3 separate regions of the Homo sapiens genome follow, and regions 1 and 3 are each linked to region 2. Evidence: promoter capture Hi-C in 16 types of primary human blood cells and fetal thymus (Javierre and others, 2016). All regions are on one chromosome and are shown on one strand. Each heading gives the region's core, a stretch centred on a gene start or on the middle of the fragment in contact. The rest is flanking DNA. Distances are from core to core; before and after follow the strand shown.

Region 1 (3,963 bases), core at 1,148-3,647, 190 kb after region 2:
TCCTAATTACTGTATTTTGCAAGAATCGATATGTTTAAAGCAAAATTAGGAATGCCCTTGTTCTCCAGATATTGGGATATCTGGACACTCCCGAGTCTGCATCTGTTTAGTAAACATTATTAATCTGTTCCCTTAACCATAAACATCTAGGGGCTAGGAATTCCTCACTTTCTGGGAATGCAGCCCAGGAAGCCTCAGACACATTTTCCTAGCCCTCACTCAAAATGGAGTCACTCCAGTTCAAACACCTCTGACATAAGGACTTCCTTCCAAAGAGTACAGTAAGGAAAGGGAAAGAAAGAGGGACTTTTCTGTGGAGAAACGTAATGGACACCGTCTCAGCCAGGTGATCAAGGTCAGCATCAACAGGAATAAATCTCACCAGTATCCCCAAAACTGTCAAGGTCATCAGAAACAAGAAAAGTCTTAGAAACTGTCACAGCCAAGCGGAGCGTAAGGACACATGACAACTAAATGTAATGTGGTGTCCTGGATGAGATCCTCGAACAGAAAATAATATTAGGCAAAAACTAAGGAGATCTGGATAAAATATTCACACTAGCTAATAATAACAAATCAATATTAGTTGAGTAATTGTTGCAAATACACCATACTCATGTAAGATGTTGGTTATAGGAGACAATTGAGTACAGGGCATATAGGTGCTCTTTGTACGAATTTCTTAATTTTTCTGTAAGTACAAAACTGTCCAAAAAGTTAAGACTATTTTAAAAAAATATTCAACTATCACAATATATTAAATCAACAATTTAAACTAGGATAATACAATTAAGTCAATAAATACTAAAAAGCTTGTTTCTGATCTTTTTTCAAAGTTTCCAAGTAAAATGATTAAATATGATTCGTCATCAAGAGAAAGCTTTATACTAAACAGTAAAACACAGAGCCAATTTTATCCATCAGTTTCAAGCTGGAAATATCAGCTGGCACCATTATTAAACATATTTTTTCAAAATTCTACTGAATATAATTAGATCAAAAATTGAAATAATTGGGGCCGGGCATGGTGGCTCATGCCTGGAATCCCAGCACTTTGGGAGGCCGAGGTGGGTAGATCACTTGAGGTCAGGAGTTCGAGACCAGCCTGGTCAACATGGTGAAACCCCGTTTCTACTAAAAATCCAAAAAGAAAATTAGCCAGGCATGGTGGCGTGCACCTGTAATCCCAGCTACTCGGGAAGCTGAGACAGGAGAATCACTTGAACCCGGGAGGCAGAGGTTGCAGTGAGCCGAGATCACGAGACTGCACTCCAGCCTGGGTGACAGAGGGAGACTCCGTCTCAAAAAAAAAAAAAAAAAAAAAAAGAAATAATCAATTTAAATGTTGGAAAGTAGGCAAAACCATCCAAGATATTTTAGAAAAGAAACAAAAACAGGCCGGGCGCAGTGGCTCACGCCTGTAATCCCAGCACTTTGGGAGGCTGAAGTGGGCAGATCATGAAGTCAGGAGACCGAGACCATCCTAGCCAACATGGTGAAACCCCGTCTCTATTAAAAATACAAAAAATTAGCCGGGTGTGGTGGCGGGTGCCTGTAGTCCCAGCTACTCGGGAGGCTGAGGCAGGAGAATGGCGTGAACCCGGGAGGCAGAGCTTGCAGTGAGCAGAGATCGCACCACTGCACTCTAGCCTGGGTGACAGAGCAAGACTCTGTCTCGAAAAAAAAAAAAGGAACAAAAACAATCTTAAACGAATAAGTAAATTTGGTTAAATAGTTGCACATGTTTTCTCTATGAACAGAAATCAGAAATGGAAATGGAAAACCATGTCATTGAATAGCAACTAAATTCAAAGTGAAATAAAAATAACATCAGGGACATGAGTTTAACTTGAATAAAATTTTGTAGTGGACGTTAAAACTAAGTACATTGAGAGACACCGTATCTGAATGGGGAGACTCGCTATCATAGGAATAAAAATCCTCCCAACATTAATAATGTATGGATATTGCTGCAGTTCTTACACAATATGTTTGAGCTAGCTAAAAGGATTTCAAAAATTACATGGAAAAATAAATGCTTCAGAATCACCAAGACACTAAGTCAAAGAATAATGAGAGGGAATTGCCTTTATATCCACTATATAGTGGAGAATGCTAAACGCTGCCTGCATTAGTTACCTATTTCTATGTATATACAATCTAATGTTAAAATCTCAGAGAGACCAAAGGATCACAGTCATATTCAGTCACACAAAGGTCCCTTTAAAGAGATTAAAGGTGTTGCTCTCAGATTGTCTCAAACAATTAAACCTCTAGGGAGCTTAAGAGTATTTTTCCTCAGCCTCTCAGCAGAAGCTCAAGATAGTGAAGGGTTTATCCAGAGAGATTTGTAGGGTTTCGTCTAATGTAGTTAACACATTATGCAAGCAAACAAAAAGACCCACAAATTTCCTGAGAAATCTGTGTGTCAGTTTGGAGTGGAAAAGGCAGACCCAGTACAACATAAAAAGGAATTGTTGGACCTCCAAAATTCTAGCAGGAAGCAGGCTGAGAAAACAGATGCTACCTTTTCTTTAAAAAAAAAAAAAAAAAGTCCGGGCACAGTGGCTCACACCTGTAATCCCAGCACTTTGGGAGGCTGAAGAGGGCAGATCGCTTGAGGTCAAGAGCTCAAGACCAGCCTGGCCAACATGGTGAAACCCCGTCTCTACTAAAAATACAAAAATCACCCAGGCATGGTGGTGGGAGCCTGTAGTCCCAGCTACTCGGGATGCTGAGGCAGGAGAATCACTCGAACCCGGGAGGTGGAGGTTGCAGTGAGCCCGAGATTGCGCCACTACACTCCAGCCTGGGTGACAGAGTGAGACTGTGTCTCCAAAAAAAAAGGATGATTCAGAGGGCAAAAATAAGGAGTCCAGAGGATGGAGCCAAGAGCCATGGAGAATTATTTTTAGCAGGAATGAGACTGAGTTCTAAAATTTGGATTTCAGAATTGCTATGGACCAGTAACACCTGTGTGCCTCCTATTTGCCCCTTTTTTGTGTGTAGAGATTATCTTGTGCCTGTCCCACCATCGTATATTGGGTGATATGGTTTGGCTATTTTCCCAAGCAAATCTTGTCTTGAATTGTAGCTCCCGTAATACCTATATGTTGTGAGAGGGACCCAGTGGGAGATAATTGAATCATGGGGGCAATTTCCCCTATGCTGTTCTGGTGGTAGTGAATAAGTCACATGAGATCTGACGGTTTTATAACGGGTTTCCCCTTTCACTTGGCTCTCATTCTCTCTTTGTCTGTCACCATTTAAGACGTGGATTTACTCCCCCCGCTTGCCTTCCACCATGATTGTAAGGCCTCCCCAGCCCTGTGGAACTGTGAGTCAATTAAACGTCTTTCCTTTGTAAATTACCCAGTCTCAGGTATGTCTTTATTAGCAGCATGAGAACAGACTAATACATTGGGTGTGGGAGGTGGGCAGGTATCTCGTCTCTTTAGCTTCAGAAATCCACAGATCAATTGGAACTGTGCTTAAGGAGCTGTACTTGGGGAACTACACCTGATGTATCTCAACCATACCTGGACCTGATTTAGATGATGGGATTCTGGACTTAGAGCTGATGTTATGAGGTGAGGCTCTGGGGACTCTTGGAGAGTTGTAGATGTATTTGCCATGAGGGAGGGATGTGAATCACTGGGGACCAGAGAGCAGACTATGGTAGGCAGCTTCCTAGGATGGTCTCCAGTGATCTCCACTTCCTGGTATTCAACCTCTTGTGTAATCCCCTCCCCTTAAGTGTGGCCTGGACCTGTTGCTTGCTTTTCATGAATAGAATATGGAAAAAGTGATGGAATATTATTACTGGAAAGGGGTCCCGATCCAGACCCCAAGAGAAGGTTCTTGGATCTCACACAAAAAAAGAGTTCAAAGTGAATTCATAGAGTAAAGTGACAGCAAGCTTATTAAGAAAGTAAAGGAATAAAAGAATGGCTACTCCATAGG
Region 2 (4,622 bases), core at 1,506-4,005:
GGCAACACCATCCCTCTCAAGATCCCTACCAAAACCTTAAAGTCAATCTTGATTCCTCTCTCACATCCCCATCCAATCTCTGAGGAAATCCAGTTTATTCTATCTTCAACATACCCACGTTTGACCACTTCTTGCCACTAATACAACAATCCAAGCTGCTCTGGCACCCCTACATTCTACTCTCAACACAACTAGAATGACCCTGCTAAAATATTTCAAATGTCACTCTGCTGAAAAACCCTCCAATGGTCTCTTGTCTCATTCAGAGTAAAAGCCAAAGTCCTTATTTCGGCACCTACCAGTTCCTCCATGATTGGGCTCCCCTAACCCTACCCCAGTACCTCGCAGACTTCCAAGTCCCTCTTACTCCACCCCAGCTGTCCTGGCCACTTTGCTCCCCTAACCCAATCACACCAAGCTCACTCCGTCTGAGGACCTTTATACAGACTCCTCTCCACCCCTCTGGACTATGAAACCCCCTCACCTCCTTCAGGTCCCTACACAGATTTTTAAAACTTACCAATGTTATCAGTGAGGCTTTCCTTATCTACCTTCTTAAAATATCTACACCTCCCAGCCGGGCGCGGTGGCTCACGCCTGTAATCCCAGCACTTTGGGAGGCCAAGGCGGGCAGATCACAAGGTCAGGAGATCGAGACCATCCTGTCTAACATGGTGAAACCCCGTCTCTACTAAAAATACGTCGGGCGTGGTGGCAGGCGCCTGTAGTCCCAGCTACTCGGGAGGCTGAGGCAGGAGAATGGTGTGAACCCGGAAGGCAGAGCTTGCAGTGAGCCGAGATCGCGCCACTGCACCCCAGCCTGGGCGACAGAGCCAGACTCTGCTCAAAAAAATAAAAAAAAAACCCACAAAACTACTCCCTCCCTACCATCCCACCAGTGCTTATTTTCCCCTTACCCTTCATTCATTTTCTCAGGGCATTTAGTACCACCTAAAATATGATATATTTATGTATGTCTCCCCCTTCCCCTAATAATGTAAATTCATTAGTACAGAAATTTTCATCTCTTCTTCATTTACTACTATATCCCCAAGGCCGTAGCAGGTGCTCAATACGATTTTTTGAATGAATGAGAAGTATTCCCATCACAAATTACTCGGAAAAAAAACCAGAAACCATATGAGAAAAGACTGATTCATCTGACTGCATAAAACCAAACCACAACATCCCCATTCCTTTTTACATTGAAAAATAATGCCATAGGCAAAGACAAATGACAATTGGGAGTAAAGTATTCGCAGATAAGAGATCCTAGAATGTGAAAAAGACCAAAAAGGAGAAAAATGGGCAAATAATATGGACAGCTCACCATACTTCCATACCATCCTTCACCCATCATTTTGGCAAAATTCCAAGTGTCTTTTATGTATTGCAGTCAAGTTTTGGGGAATGGAGCTTGTGTCCAACACACTTTGAAACTGATAGCTGCTGTTCGGATTTTTAAATGTTGCTATTATCTTTTTTTTGTGTGATGAATTCTTATGTATTTTATAACATATCAATTAGTACCAGTTATTTTTCTTAGTAAATTATATCATCTGCAAGTAATTAGTGTATCTGTCTCTTTCCAATATTTATAGGGCTTATTTTAAAATTTTAGTCATTTTGCATGAGAAGCTTGGTGATAAAATCATGGATCCTGGACATAGCTCTTCCACTTACACTGTGCAATCTCGGCAGGTTATTTAGCCTCTCCGTGCCTCAGTTTTCCCATCTGTAAAACGAGGACGGCATCATCTTCTCTTTAAGTTTGTTTTGAGGATTAAGTGATTTATTTCATGTAAAGCACAAGGTAAAGCTCTGGATGATCAGTTAAGGTAAAATTTGAGATAGAGTGAACAGCTGACCAATATCGAATGGTAAAATCAATCACAACTGGAAATATATCTCAGTTGAGGGAAATAAAAGACGTAGGTTTAAGAACAAAGATGGTGGTTTTTAGCATTTCAAATCACTAGACACTGCTCCAAAAATATAATCTACAAATTAGGGCCATCTGACCAAGAGTCTCACTTGCTTTTCCAACCTAATGGAAATATTAAGTCCAAATGACGTCTGTTGCTTTATTGTGGTCTTTAGGGTCTTTCCATGCAAATCAGTGGACTAATGGCAGAGTATTGCCTATTCTTTACCTTTCAATAAACTTGTGGTTTCATCCTTTCTACAGAAAAGAACCTAGGAGGTGTCAGTGAAAAAGGTCACATCAGTGTCCTCTGGGAGTTTACGGTCTCGTGGAAACAGGCAACAACGGTAAAGACAGACGCTACGGGACCACAGAGGCGGGCTCCTCACCCGCTGCTGTGCAGAGAAAGGGGCGCATCCCGGAGCCTTCTCGCCTCCACCCCGCTCCCCCGCCCAGGCTCTCGACAGCCCCGGCCCTGACGGCCTAAGCCTGAGCCCCGCGTTCAGCTTCTGCTCCCACCCGGACCCCGCACGACCTCTATAGGTCAGACGGTGGCGCCCGGCCGGCCCACGTGCTCCCCACGGGCCCTCGCGACGCGGCCCGGACGTGGCCCCGGACTGCCTCCAATCCAGAAGAAACTAAGAGGCGGAGTCCCGCTGAGCCCCTGCATTCAAAAGATGAAAAGATATGGGATCACCTTTCGTCAGAGTCCGTGGCCGTTTTGCCGAGGGCCGGGTTGGGGGGTTTTGAGAAAAGATTCTCAAAATCCATGACCCAGACAGGTCCTCCCTTTCGCGAGCCGGGAAGCTACAGAGTAACAACCCGAGAGAGTGACAACCCGGACGCGACGAGACGGACCCAGAGCCGCGCCAGGGCCACAGGCTCCGCCCCGCGCAGCCTCACCTGCCCCGCGCATGCGCTGCACCGCCCTCCGCGACTCTGGGCAGGCCGGGTCTCTCCCTGCCTCCTTCGCCTCGGCTCTGCGCAGGCGCCGCCGTGGTTGCCCTTCTGTAAGCTTTTTCGTCCTTTACCTCAGATAGTAGAATTTTGTTTATTTTATTTATTTATTTGTTTGTTTGTTTGTTTATTTAAAGACAGAGTCAAGCTCTGTCGTCCAGGCTGGACTGCAGTGGCGTGATCTCGGCTCACTGCAACCTCCGCCTCCCGGGTTCAAGCAAGTCTCCTGCTTCAGCCTCCTGAGTAGCTGGGACTACAGGTGTCTGCCACCACGCCCAGCTAATTTTTGTATTTTTAGTAGAGACGGGATTTCACCATGTTGGCCAGGATGGTCTCGATCTCTTGATCTCGTGATCCGCCCGCCCCAGCCTTCCAAAGTGCTGGGATTACAGGCGTGAGCCACCGCGCCCGGCCCCAGCCCAGAATTTTTAAAATTAGTTGTTAGGATTCTGCTTTCACCTTGGTGAAAACTCTTCCATCAAAATCACAGTATTTCTAAGGGATGGTAGTAACAGCTAACATTTATCTGAGCACTCCACTACTATTCCTTAGAAATAGCGTTTCACATGTTAGCTAACTTAATCCTCACAACAGCCCTGTAAAAGATGTTCTATTACCATTCACAGTTTTGAAATGAATAAACAGATGTGTAGTCAGGTAATGTAACTTGTAGGGTCTCTACAATTGAATGGGAATTAAAATGAATACACAAGTAACCTCAAGACAGAAAAGTCCGTTAAAAAGTACCAAATACTAAGAGAATTCAGAAGAGGGAAAAAATTGCATCCAGTTGGGAAGGCTTCTTGAGAAGGGAGTATTTGAGCTGGGTCTTGAGATATTTCCATAGGAAAAGAGGAAGTGGGCATTCCAAGTAGAGAGAATTGTATGAAGGCAGGAAAATAGAGCATGCTGTTGCAGAACAGGAAATTGCTCAGTTTTGCTCAATGTAATGCCATTTAAGGGACCTGTAGAAAGGAAGGCTCAAACCCTAGGTTGGGCCAGTGATAGAGAACCTGACTTGCTTCTGTAAGTGAAGGGAGTGTTTGATTCTTGGCATGAATCAGGATCCCTTTACCGATTAGTGAAGGGAACTATTTGAAGCCAGACATCTTCCCCAGGGAAATTCTACTTTCCCATGTTGTTTATATTGTAGGCCATCACCTATGGAACATGAATCATTACTAAAAATTCAGAGAAAAAATTGAATTAAGGAGATAAAAACTAGAATTACCCCCTCTTTAGCAGGAAGCATTATTATAGAACCCAAATTGTTACCATACACACTTTTTTATATAAAATATCCAACATACAGCAAAAGATAACCAGACACAAATGAAAATTAGATTGGTAGGTAAAAAGCAGCTAAAACATCTGACCTGCAAAGGCATCAGACACTAGCATTTTCAGACAAAGACTATATAAAAGGCTACATATGTTTGTGTTAGATTGATGCCAAAAAAGGCCCCAATTTCTCCAACCTTTCCTGTATCCATGTCCTTTGCAATGTGACTTTGCAGCTCCTCCCATAAAGAGGTAGGATCTATTTCACCTCCTCTTTAATCTGAGTTGATTTTGCCTGATAGAATGACTTGTCTTAGCTAGTAGAATGCAGAAGTGGCCTGCCAATACCAAGCCAAGGCCCCAAGAGGCTTTGTATGTGTCTGCTGTCTCTTATATGCCTGCCTTCTTCAGGACAATAAACTCAGGCTACCCTGCTGACGATAAGGGAGAGGCATGTAGA
Region 3 (4,377 bases), core at 229-2,728, 230 kb after region 2:
CCTGTGTAAGTGATTTCCTGGGGTAGGATTCTTAAGAGACAGCCATCGGGAAGCAAGGACAGGGCAGGGCAGGGGGAGAACCAAGTAAAGAGGTGGTTTCAGCTGAAGTCTTGCCTCTCCTGACTCCAAGGAGCACCAGAGTGAATGGCACCTCAGAGTTGTCACATTTTGAGCAAGGACCAGGCCTCTATGCTCCAGTATCAGTCAGCCATTGGCTGTGGGAAGAGATGGAGGGCTTAGCTTCGCAGGCATTTCTGGGCAGGGGCTGGTCCCCAGAGAAGGGCATATATAGCCCGTAGCATCCTTCTCTCATGGCTGTAAGGGGTCCCTCAGAAAGGATATCTGGGCAGGGTATAAGAGCATTCACTGCACTGCCCATCTCTGAGCAGTTGGATTATGGCTAGGTATCACAAAGTGGAAGGAGACGGTGTTAGACAACGATTAAGATCTAGGGTGAAAAGTGTAAGTGTTCACCCCAGCTCCTTCTCTCACTAGCTTGGGCAGATCTCCTCATCCCTCTAAGCCTCAGTGCCTCCCTCGTAAGGCTATTATGAGAATTAAATAAGGTGATGCATGTAAAGTTTATATAGCACAGTGGCCTGGTACATAATGAGAATTTGACACTATCTTAATTTTCTTGGCTGTAAAATGGGGAAATAATAATAACTACCTAAGGTTGTTATGAGGATTAATTGAGCTAATTTAGCTACGGGCTTTGAATTGTGCCCGTCTTGTTGTTCCTACTGTATAAGTGAAAGCATTCCTTATTATTGCTATTAGTATAGTTGTCATTGCTATTACTGTTGTTTCAGTAGGAAACACTGGGTCGGGCCACTAAAATCAGGGCTGTCGTGGGCCTCCAGTATTCTTTCCATGATGACTGGTGAACATGTGTGTGTAGCCAGGTACTGGAAGATATGACTCAATGCAAAATGCTCTTTTCCCACTAACGTTTCTTTCTGGGCTCTAGATATTTACTAGGTTGGGTGCTCACAGGAACATTTCTGCTTTTTGTTCACTCATTGGCCCTGGTAACTTATGTACCCACTCCTCTCTGTGATGGGTTTATCATGATTCATCCCACTCCTGAAGGAGAGTGAGGCTTCCTGAAGTCATTTTGTGACATGTTTGTATATTTAGAATGCAAATGACTGTTACATGGAATCAGGAATAGAAGTGGGACATGCTTGTTTATTCAAATTATTCACTTAGAAATTCTTATTAAATATTTATTAAACCTCTTCTGCTACGATTTTTCCCCTAAAGATAAAGTAGGAAGCAGAGGACTCAGTAAAAAAATAATGGTTTCCATGTTTGTATATTTTGCAGTTATAGTGAAGCAGAGTGAGTACAGGGCTGGAGTCGTGACCAACTGTGATAAATATCTGTGACCTTGGAGAGCACCACTCAGAATCCCCGTGTCTCATCTGTAAAATGGGGATGGATGGTGGTGACAGTACCTGCCCCTTGCCCCTCGGAGGCATGCAGTGTGATCTGTGATAGCACCTTGTAATGGTGACATGACCTATGCAGGCTGGAGGTTGCATCATCCTCATCAGCTTCCATCTTTGTCTCAGTTGTCCTGTGAGGGGCTTGCAGTAATTCCAGGATATGATGCTTCCCTTTATCCATTTGTCTCTCTCCCATGATTTTGTATGGCTTGAAAGGGCTCCAGAGAGTTAGAAATAAAGTCTCCTTGATTTTATAGGACAAAGTGGCAGTTCAGAGAGGACAGCCAGGTTGCCCATGGCCATAGTAGCTCCTGTTAAACCAGGACAGTTTTAATCTGCACAAATGGGACCCCTGGCCATTGTGACTGTGCACCCTTGGGAGGCTTCCCAGAGCCTTGGTGGGGTTCAGTGCAAGACCCTGTGCAGCCCAGTCCTTCCCCCTGTCACTTCAGGGAGTTTCGGAAATTTCACTGAGGCCTCAAGGCCATAGTCTTAGAACCCTGAGGGGCTTTTCTTCTCCTGGTACAGATCAGAGGCTATCTTTTCCTCTCCTGAGCATTGCTGTTTTATAGATGTAAATAAATCTCCATTTCTGATTACTTCCCAAATGGGCCCATGAGGAAATGGGACAAAAGCAAAGGACTTCCTGCAGAGCCTGGTCTTGGTTCTGTGCAGGAAATGAGGGCTTCCAAACCAAGGTCATCTTACAGACCAGCACTGTCCAACAGAAATAGGATGCTACCCACACATGTAATTATAAACCGCCTAGTAGCCACATTAAAATAAGTGCAGAGAAACAGCTGCAAGCCGGGCGTGGTGGCTCACGCCTGTAATCTCAGCACTTTGGGAGTCTGAGGCGGACAGATCACTTAGGGTCAGGAGTTCGAGACCAATCTGGCCAGCATGGTAAAACCCCATGTCTACTAAAAATACAAAAATTAGCTGGGTATGGTGGTGGGTACCTGTAATCCCAGCTGCTCGGGAGGCTGAGGCAGGAGAATCGCTTGAACCTGAGAGGTGGAGGTTGCAGTGAGCCGAGATCATGCCACTGCACTCCAGCTTGGGAGACAGAGTGAGACTCCTTCTTAAAAAAAAAGAAAAGAAAAGTAACAGCTGCAATTAAATTAATAATTTATTGCCGGGCGTGGTGGCTCACGCCTGTAATCCCAGCATTTTGGGAGGCCGAGGCGGGCGGATCACGATGTCAAGAGATTGAGACCATCCTGGCCAACATGGTGAAACCCCGTCTCTATTAAAAATATAAAAATTAGCTGGGCATGGTGGCAGGCGCCTGTAGTCCCAGCTACTTGGGAGGCTGAGGCAGGAGAATTGCTTGGGCCCAGGAGGTGGAGATTGCAGTGAGCTGAGATCATGCCATTGCACTCCAGCCTGGGTGACAGAGTGAGACGCCGTCTCAAAAAAGAAATAAATTAATTTAAAAAACCCAAATAATTTATTATATTTAACTAAATAAATCCAAAATGTTATTTTGACATGTAATTAATATAAAAAGCTATTATATTTTACGTTCTTTTATTCACTCTTCAAAATCTAATGTGAATTTTACATATGTAGCACATCTTAATTCAAACAGTAAATTTTCATTGGAAAGCTTTGATCTGAATTTAGATTACATAAAAAATGTATGGTTGAAGAAGTAGATTTATGTACTCAAGTTGTACATAAAAGTTTTTCAACAACTTTGAAAGCCAGAAGATCTATTTCCTTTAATATTGCACACACATTTTCAAAACTAGTTCATCTTTTCTAGAAGAATTGATTTGACTATGAAGCAAAAGCTTATTTTCAAAATAATGTCCAAGTTAAGTAAATTCACCAACTCTTGTGTTAGTTTGATACTGTAAATATCAAATTCAAAGATGTATTGAATATATTGAAAAGTAACTCTAAATTTACCAATGTCAACAAAGTGTTCCTCAGATTTCTTTTAGTTTTTGCAGCCAATTTTCATAATGCTATTACAATTAACATTTTTTGCATACTGAATCATGTTGTAAAAATATGTGAAATCATTATTATCAACTTATGAAGTTGGAACATAAATTCTCACACCTGTCTGGGTGGATCATAAATAAGATCTTCTCTTCCCTTCCTTGGAGCTTTAAATTTATCTTGTTTATATGCAGTATGAAGATAGATGAGAAAATGCAAATGGCAGTCATTTTTTATTTTGATTATTGAAATAATGAATTACTGAGTGAAAATGATGATTTGACAAACATTCCTTTTATTTTCAAGAAAATCTGAATTGGAGTTGAAAAGTAAATCTTTATTTAAAAAGACCCTTCCCCTTCTCCATCAGTGAATACTGGCAGAGAACACAGTATCATTAAATTCATTGTCTTCTGTTTCCATGAACTGGAGAATCATTGAGTATATACAGAACCATTTTAACAACTGTATCCGTGACACTTAGAGTCTGCTTCAGAAAACCTAGCACAAGGCCGGATGTGGTGACTCACACCTGTAATCCCAACACTTTCAGAGGCCAAGGCAGGTGCATCATTTGAGGTCAGGAGTTCGAGACCAGCCTGGCCAACATGGTGAAACCCTGCCTCTTCCAAATACAAAAAAAAATTAGCTGGGCATGGTGGTGTGCGCCTGTAATCCCAGCTACTTGGGAGGCTGAGGCACAAGAATCGCTTGAGCCGGGGAGGCAGAGTTTGCAGTGAGCCGAGATTGTGCCGCTGCACTCCAGCCTGGGCAACAGAACCAAACCCTGTCTCGGATAAACAAACAAACAAACAAAAAGCAGACCTAACACAAATGTTTTCAACATGTAACACATAATGCAATGAAGCAAATGTTTCCAATATGTATCATACAATAAAATGAAGTAGTAAAGGAAACATTAGTCTACTAAAATCTTAGTAAATCTTTTTTTTTTTTTTTTTTTTTTGAGATG

The links. Contacts are between HindIII fragments. The CHiCAGO score rates a contact against its expected background, and 5 or more counts as called.
Region 1: a contact is called between a fragment that was not itself captured here and the fragment with the promoter of ZC3H8 in region 2, in 1 of 17 cell types (endothelial precursors). The highest score is 5.4, in endothelial precursors.
Region 3: a contact is called between a fragment that was not itself captured here and the fragment with the promoter of ZC3H8 in region 2, in 9 of 17 cell types (erythroblasts, total B cells, naive CD8 T cells and 6 more). The highest score is 7.6, in erythroblasts.

What each region holds. Positions count from the first base shown.
Region 1 is chr2:112,447,092-112,451,054 of GRCh38, forward strand. No RefSeq gene overlaps it. Among named protein-coding and RNA genes, the nearest start is that of RGPD8, 15 kb to the left of the region's middle. The HindIII fragment of the contact is 3,039 bases long and covers 879-3,917 here.
Region 2 is chr2:112,252,287-112,256,908 of GRCh38, forward strand. ZC3H8 (zinc finger CCCH-type containing 8) reads right to left here and starts at 2,756. Exons shown (of 9, transcript NM_032494.3): 1 at 2,622-2,756. The coding sequence starts at 2,695. RefSeq lists a silencer at 2,729-2,938 and a cis regulatory region at 4,489-4,622. The HindIII fragment of the contact is 1,301 bases long and covers 1,637-2,937 here.
Region 3 is chr2:112,486,220-112,490,596 of GRCh38, forward strand. The region is part of intron 2 of TTL (tubulin tyrosine ligase); the gene reads left to right. Among named protein-coding and RNA genes, the nearest start is that of TTL, 6.3 kb to the left of the region's middle. The HindIII fragment of the contact is 3,165 bases long and covers 1-3,061 here.